Linked DNA regions of Homo sapiens: region 1 is linked to region 2. The links are contacts of gene promoters, found by promoter capture Hi-C in human tissues and cell types (Jung and others, 2019). All regions are on one chromosome and are shown on one strand. The core of a region is centred on a gene start or on the middle of the fragment in contact, and the rest is flanking DNA. Distances in the headings are between cores, read along the strand shown. Region 1 overlaps LRP12 (LDL receptor related protein 12). Region 2 holds the start of FZD6 (frizzled class receptor 6).

Region 1 (4,166 bases), core at 734-3,233, 1.3 Mb before region 2:
TTAGAGAAATTAAAAATGATGCCAATCTTTTAATATTAGGATTAAATGGAGCACAATAGGATGTTTAGTAGTTGGAATTTACTTTTTCAAATATAAGTGAGTAAACCTTTCATAATCTGACTTAATTTCATTAATAGTTAAGGCATCTTTTTACATATATTGGAGAAAACATAAGAATAATCTTTGTATCTGATATATTTTGAAGTAGAATTGTTTCGTGAAATTATTATTGCTTGTGAAAGTTTTGCTAAGAGAATACAGAACACCTATACAAAAAATGCCATGATTAATTCTCAAAATCATTGTGTGAGGTAGGTATTATTAGAAGAAACTGAAGCTTTGAGAATAGTAGTTTTGCCTAAGGTTCATGTCTGTCTACTGCTGTGCTCTTCGTGTAGAGGCCCATTATTTTTTTTTTGTCTACATTATTGTAACAGCCACCAACTAGTCTTAGCTCTAGTCTTGTCCTGATTGAATCATATCACACTTAGCAGTAGCCAGAGTGACTTATCTAAAGTACAGATCTGATAATGTAACTTTCTTGCTTAAAACCCAACAGCAGTTCCCTGTTCTTAAAATATAAATTAAACTCAGCAGAGCTTTCATGATCTGGCTAGTTTTTTTTTTTTCACTTTTAAGTTCAGGAGTACATGTGCAGGTTTGTTATATAAGTAAACTTGTGTCATGGGGGTTTGTTGTACACAATTATTACATGGGGGTTTGTTGTACATAATTATTAATCTGTTTGTTGTACAGATTATTTCATCACCTAGTGATATGTTACATCATATCTAGTGATATCTGTACATCATATCGTATATAGTACCCAGTAGTTATTTTTTCTGATCCTCTCCTTTGTCCCACCCGCCACCTTCTGACAGGCCCCAGTATGTGTTGTTCCCCTTCCTCTATGTGTCCATGTGTTCTCATCATTTAGCTCCCACTTATAAGTGAGAACATGCAGCATTTGGTTTTCTGTTCCTGCATTTGTTTGCTAAGGATAATGGCCCCCACCTCCATCCAAGTTCCTGTAAAGGACATGTTCTTGTTCTTTTTTATGACTACATAGTATTCTATGGTATATGTGTACCACGTTTTCTTTATCCAGTCTGTCATTGATGGGCATTTAGGTTAATTCCATGTCTTTGTTATTGTGAATCAGTGCTACAAGGAACATAACACATGCATGTGTCTTTATAATAGAACAATTTATATTCCTTTGGGTGTATTCCCAGTAATGGGATTGCTGGGTCAATGATATTTCTGTTTTTAGGTCTTTGAGGAGTCGCCACGTTGTCTTCCACAATGATTGAACTAATTACACTTCTCCCAACAGTGTACAAGCATTCCTTTTTCACCACAACCTCGCAAGCATTTGTTATTTTTTTGACCTTTTAATAATTAGCCATTCTGACTGGTGTGAGATGGTATCTCATTGTGGTTTTGATTTGCATTTCTCTGATTGGTGATGTTGAGCTATATTTCATATGATTGTTGGCTGTATGTATGTCTTTTTTTGAAAAGTGTTCATGTCCTTTACCCAGTTTTCAATGGGTTTTTTTCTTGTAAATGTGTTTTAAGTTCTTTATAGATTTAGATTAATTTTTTGTTTGTTTGTTTTGTTTTTTTTTTGAAACGGAGTCTTGCTCTGTCGCCCAGGCTGGAGTGCAGTGGCACAATCTTGGCTCTCTGCAAGCCCCGCCTCGCGGGTTCATGCCATTCTCCTGCCTCAGCCTCCCGAGTAGCTGGGACTACAAGCACCCACCACCATGCCCGGCTAATTTTTTTTTTTTTTTTTTTTTTATTTTTAGTAGAGACAGGGTTTCACTGTGTTAGTCCTGATGGTCTCAATCTCCTGACCTCGTGATCCACCTGCCTGGGCCTCCCAAAGTGCTGGGATTACAGGCGTGAGCCACCGCACCCAGCCTAGATTAGTTCTTAATAGATGCTGGATATTTTGCAAATTATGAATCTTTGTCAGATGCGTAGTTTGCAAAAATTTTCTCCCATTCTGTAGGTAGCCTATTCACTCTGTTGACCGTTTCCTTTGCTGGACAGAAGCTCGTCAGTTTAATTAGATTCCATTTGTCAATTTTTGCATTTGTTGCAATTGCTTTTGGCATCTTTATCCTGAGATCTTTGCCTATTTTTGTGTCTAGAATGGTATTGCCTAGCTTGTCTTCCAGGGTTTTTATAGTTTTGGGTTTTATATTTAAGTCTTCAATCCGTCTTGAGTTAATTTTTGTATATGGTGTAAGGAGGGGTCCAGTTTCAGTCCTCTGCATATGACTAGCCGGTTACCCCAGCACCATTTATTGAATAAGGAATCCTTTTCCTATGGCTCATTTTTGTCAAGTTTGTTGAAGATCAGTTAGTTGTAGATGTGCTGCCTTATTTCTGGGTTCTCTATTGTGTTCCATTGGTCTATGTGTCTGTTTTTGTACGAGTACCATGCAGTTTTGGTTACTGTAGACCTGTAGTGTAGTTTGAAGTTGGGTAGCATGATTTCTTCAGCTTTCTTCTGTTTGCTTAGGATTACCTCTGCTATTTGGGCTCTTTTTTGGTTCTATATGAATTTTAAAATAGTTTCTTCTAGTTCTGTGAAGAATGTCAATGGTCATTTAATAGGAATAGCATTGAATCTGTAAATTGGTTTGGGCAGTATGGCCATTTTAACAGTATTGATTCTTCTTACCCATAAACATAGAATGTTTTTTCATTTGTTTGTGTCATTTCTGATTTCTGTAAGCGTAGTTTTATAGTTCTCCTTCTAGAGATCTTTCACCTCCCTGGTTAGCTGTGTTCCTGGGTATTTTATTCTTTTTATGGCAGTTGTGAATGGAATTACATTCCTGATTTGGCTTCAGCTTGACTGTTGTTGGTGTATAGGAATGTTAGTGATATTTGCACATTGATTTTATATCCTGTGAATTTGCTGAAGTAGTTACCAGCTTAAGAAGCTTTGGGCCCGAGACTATGGGGTTTTCTACATATAGGATCATGTCATTTGCAAACAGGGATAATTTGACATCCTCTCTTCCTATTTAGATGCGCTTTATTTATTTCTTTTGCTTGATTACCCTAACCGAGACTTCCAGTACTATGTTGAATAGCAGTGGTGAGAGAGGGCATCCTTGTCTTGTGTCGGTTTTCAGGGGTCATGCTTCCAGCTTTTGCCCATTCATTATGATGTTGGTTGTGGGTTTGTTTGTCATAGACGGCTCTTATTATTTTGAGGTATATTTCTTAATACCTTGTTTACTGAGAGTTTTTAATATGAAGGGGTGTGGAGTTTCATCAAAAGCCCTTTCTGCATCTGTCAAGATAATCATGTGGTTTTTGTCTTTAGCTCTCTTTATGCGATGAATCACATTTATTGATTTGCATATGTTGAATCAACCTTGCATCCCAGGGATAAAGCCTACTTGATCACGGTGGATAAGCTTTTTGATGTGCTACTGGATTTGGTTTGCAAGTATTTTTTGAGGATTTTTGCATCAGTGTTCATGAAGAATATTGGCCTGATGTTTTCTTTTGTTGCCAGTAAGTTTTTTGTTTTTGCTTGTTTGTTTTTTTAATACCAAAACCGCCATCAGGTTTTGGTATCAGGATGATGCTGACCTCATAGAATGAGTTAGGAGGGAGCCCTTCCTCTTCAATTTTTTTGAATAGTTACAGCAGGAACAGTACCAGCTCTTCTTTGTACATCTGGTAGAATTCAGCTGTGAATCCATCTGGGCATTTTTTGGTTGGTAGGCTGTTTATTACTGACTTAATTTCAGAGTTTGTTATTAGCTTGTTCAGGGATTCAGTTTTTTTCCTGGTTTAGTCTTAGGAAGGTGTATGTGTCCAGTAATTTATCCATTTCTTCTAGATTTTTCTAGTTTATGTGCATACAGGTGTTTGCAACATTCTCTGATGATTGTATTTCTGTGGGGTCTGTGGTAGTATCCCCTTTGTTGTTTCTGATTGTGCTCATTTGAATTTTCTCTCTTCTTTATTAGCCTAGCTAGTGGTCTGTTTTATTAATTTTTTCAAAAAAAAAACCAGCTCCTGGATTTGTTGATGTTTTGAATGGTTTTTTGCATCTCAGTCTCCTTCAGTTCATCTCTGATTTTGGTTATTTCTTGTCTTTACTAGCTTTGGGATTTGTTTGCTCTTGGTTC
Region 2 (4,075 bases), core at 1,576-4,075:
CAAACTTAAAATGGTCAGCCAGGTGCAGTAGCTCGCGCCTGTAATCCTAGCACTTTGGGATGCTGAGGCAGGACGGATCACTTGAGCCTAGGAGTTTGAGACCAGCCTGGGCAACATAGTAAGACCCCATCTCTAAAAGAAAAAACAAAAACCTTAAAATGTATGTAGTTACCACATACAAAGGAAATTAGATTTAAAAAATTTAGGAACACTATTAAAACATGAACACTACAAAACATATTATCATCAGCAAAAAAGTGAATGAATGATGTAATTATTGCTTCACAGTGTTCTCACTATATACTTCATATTGAATCAGATTGAACCATCAAAATGGTTCTGATTCATGAAAGTCTCAGTGCATCATTTGTTCAGTTCAAAAGGACATCTAGCATCAGTTTGAAAAAAACCACTGAAAGATAACAATAATATAATCTGTACTATCCTTTTAAATAACATCTACTTAGTATTTATAAGCTTTCCTATTCCAGACATGAGTCCACAATGAGGCAGTCAGACAACTATTCAACTGAACAACAATAGAAAACTTTCAAAGCTGCAAAATCAAATCTAATCAATTTTAAAAATAGTATATATATTAAATTTGTAGGGATTTCCTCTCTTAGCAACAATCTGAGGGAAAAAAGCCTTTACTATTCTGTTTTTCTGGAGAAAAACTACAAAAACAATGCATGTGTCTAGTTTCCTTCAGGAGACTTAACAACCTAACAAATCTGTATGGGAAGGCAGGTTCCTGTCTGTACAGGTAGCTTTCTTCTCACACTCCCTAGTAATTTGCATATCTCTAAACCAGAGACAGGTAACTAAGGCACCTAAGGCAATCTTTAGTGTCACTGTACTCCTCCCAAGTGGTTTCTTTTAACAAGTATCTTATAAAGAACATATAAGTGCTATGCTTAGAAAACAAAGTCACTTTTTAGTGACTTTGTGATAGCCTTAAAATACAGTCTACAGCAACAAAATATTCTGATAATTTATTTATTTCAGAAAAACTGTACCAAGTGAATATTACAACTACTTATAAAAACTTGTAAATTTCTTCAGTTTTAGTCCAGGCAATAAATATTACATGTTCAGTGAAGTAGAAAAATATTCAGAATTCGCATTTCTAGAAGAACTATCATACTTGATTCAGGAAAGCAAAATATTTTCTAGGTACAAGGTATTTAGAAATCATGTGTAACCATACTTCATTATATAAAATGAACCCTATTCAAACGAATCTACTAAACAGGGCCGCAAAGGTACACAAAACATAAGTCAGTAGAGGGATTTAATTTTCAAAAGGACTTTTCAAAACACAACTTGTACACAACTTGAAGAAATCGGCTCTGTTTAAAAATAGACTTATTTTTACTAGTTTATTCTAGAACAGAGCATAAACTACTATTCAATAAACGTATGAAGCACTACTCACCTCCATTTCCACCGCGGCAATACTCTGGTCATAATGACCCATCAGATTAGGGAAAAACGTCATGTTGTAGGCCATTTTCATACATCTGGGAACAGTAATTGGTTCACAGGTGAAGAGACTGTGCCCTCTTAGGAGGGGTAGAAAAATACACGTCAACAAAAATGTAAACATTTCCATTTTCTTCAAATTCCTGATTTTACCACATGGCTTGGATGAATCACTCTTTGCATCCTCAGAAGATCCCCATCCAAAGATAAAATGTTCAAATTCCTCATTTCACTATTTTACTCATTTTCAGGCTTTCCTGAAAATGAGTCCTGGGTCAATTACTGTAAAAACAAAAGGAGGGTGTATCAGCAACATTTGTCATAAACTCAAATGTGGAGTCAAAGTGCAGAGTTAAGATTTTCACCCCAGGTAACAAACACTGGAAAAACAACGGAAAATTCTGTCCTAACGAGATACTCTTCCACCTGCCTTAGCATGGAATATATCATTTGCTAAGGAAGCTGCACCTCTAGGAAACCGATGCTAGGAGGTTGGTGCTGTATGGAAGACAGGGTTAAAAAGAGGGAATGGCAAGAGTAAGATGGAGGAAAAAAGGAAAGCTGGTGATTCGGAGTAAATTATAAAGGATTAATATAAGCATACAATCTAAGGGCCCCTGTTGGAAAGCTTATTAAGTACAAGAAAACTAAGGCCCTGGGAAATTCCTTAAGACCCAAAGAGTTCTTAAACTTGTAAAAGACTCTGAAGAGTCAGTTTTTGTGGCAGTCTTCTGGGTATGTAGTTTTCTCGATTTTCGTAAGGCCAACTAGAGGGAGACTTTTAGGATTCCTCCAGTGGAGGAGCAACATTGCAGTTTTCACTGGCTAGGAGGGTGTAGTGCTGCCGTCGAAAGGAAAGTGCGCAAATCTGTCCCGGGGGAAGGGCGAAGGCAGTCCCCTTGCGGGAGGAAGGCTGTAGGCCCCGGATTACGAATTACCCGCGCCCCAACACACACTGATGCCCGGTCCGCCAGCGCCCCACACCCGGGAACCTGCCCCAGGCCTAGAGCCAGACAGCAGCGTTCCTGGCCTGCGCGGCGCCGCGGGGCCCCGGCATCGCCTTTCAGAGCCGGTTCCCGCTTCCGAGGAAACTCAGGTGCGGGCCGTCCCGCCGTTGCCTCCCCAGCACCTGCGGCTCCCGGCGCGCCTCATCCCAGCCGCGGCCCCTCGCCCCTCGAGGCCCTCCCCGCTTCCCCCGGCACCCGCCCGGCCCCTGCCCAGTCCCAGCCGTGGAAGCCTCACCTCGGGGGGCGGTCGAAGGCCGCTGTCCCTTCCCGTCCCCGTCTAACCCACCGTTCCCCCCAGGGACCTGAGACGGCTCCGGGGTTGCGTCCGGGACTGGAGCTGCCTCGAGAGCCGCACGGGGAGCGAGAGCTGAGCGATCCCGCGAGACTGCGCCGCCAGGTCGGGCGGGCAGGTCCGGGCTCGCGGCGGCGGCGGCGGCGGCGGCGGCGGCGGCGGCGGGACTGGCCCTGCGCCCGGGCACCGCCTGCGCTGCGCCGCCCGGCCTCACTCCGCGGCCCGCCAGGACCCGGCCCCGGTGAACGGGCTCGGGGTGCCGAGGTCCGGCTGCGGGGCCGGGAAGCCACCTCCACCTTGCCGTCTGTTACGACCCCCGAGGCGCAAGGCTGAGCCCCATCTCGCTATCCGGGTCCGGAGGGGTTCACCTTAGAAGGATTTTTTGAAGCTCTTGGCGCTGGCTCTAAAAGAACCCACTTCCTTGCGGATTTCAGGAGTCAAGAATCCTTAAACGGAGCCAATTTGCTTTGTAAAGCCAATTGCCCAAGTGACTTGAGTTCGAAAGGAGATACTTCCTGGACAACTGCTATAAAAACAACAACAAATACTTTTATTAATTCGGGGAGCCTGGTCACCAACTGGATGCTCAGGTAGCAGTGGGATTCCAGCCCTGGCGGGTCCCACAGTTTTATTGATACAAACCCTAATAGGAAGTTGAACTGCTGTAGAAATCAACCTAGTTTGGGGTACCAACTCTGTCATAGATATTAGATAAATTACCCTAATCTTTAAGGGGCATAGTTTCCTCACAATATAGGAATGACAATAGTTGTAATGATGGTTAACGTTAATTGAGCACTGGCTGTAAGTCAAATAGTGCCAAGTTCGTTACAAGTGTTTACACCTAACCTGTAAGGCCCTCCTATGAAACAGGCAGAATAGTATGAGAAGCAAATGAACTTGTAGAAGTACTTTGAAAAATGCAAAGTAACTTGTAGATGGAGGCTATTCTTGTCAGATAAATCATCCTGTTGCAGAAAAGGAATGTCATATTTCCATACCTAGAAGGACAACCCTGAACAACCAGAGTAAGAGTTTTGGAATCTGTGGGGAAAGACGAATTTGGAGTGGGGAATTCCTCCCCAGTTTTATCAAAAGCTTACTGATGTTGGGAGACAGGTAGTGATGAAGAAATATTAACATCATTAAGAGCTGGATAGTTGATGTATTGCAGAATAAATTTCTATGTAGGAAGAATATTTTCCCCTAAATTTCTAATTTTCTACATTGGAAGACTATTTCTCTCCAGTTTCTACGAACTTAATGAGATCTTTTTGTGATCAGGCTCTAG

The links. The method cuts DNA at HindIII sites, captures the fragments that hold promoters and counts their contacts. A contact is called where the count stands out against the background at its distance.
Region 1: a contact is called between a fragment that was not itself captured here and the fragment with the promoter of FZD6 in region 2, in 1 of the 25 tissues and cell types used here (dorsolateral prefrontal cortex).

Annotation. Positions count from the first base shown.
Region 1 is chr8:104,577,996-104,582,161 of GRCh38, reverse strand. All of the region lies in intron 1 of LRP12 (LDL receptor related protein 12), which reads left to right. Among named protein-coding and RNA genes, the nearest start is that of LRP12, 9.2 kb to the left of the region's middle. The HindIII fragment of the contact is 4,873 bases long and covers 1-4,166 here.
Region 2 is chr8:103,297,648-103,301,722 of GRCh38, reverse strand. FZD6 (frizzled class receptor 6) reads right to left here and starts at 2,825. Exons shown (of 7, transcript NM_003506.4): 1 at 2,728-2,825; 2 at 1,439-1,767. The coding sequence starts at 1,615. It overlaps LOC105369147 (a long non-coding RNA gene), which reads left to right and starts at 2,905. Exons shown (of 2, transcript NR_148216.1): 1 at 2,905-3,374. RefSeq lists enhancers at 2,345-2,394, 2,248-2,748, 2,749-3,249 and silencers at 2,388-2,682, 2,545-2,794, 2,915-3,084, 3,095-3,144. The HindIII fragment of the contact is 4,787 bases long and covers 1,296-4,075 here.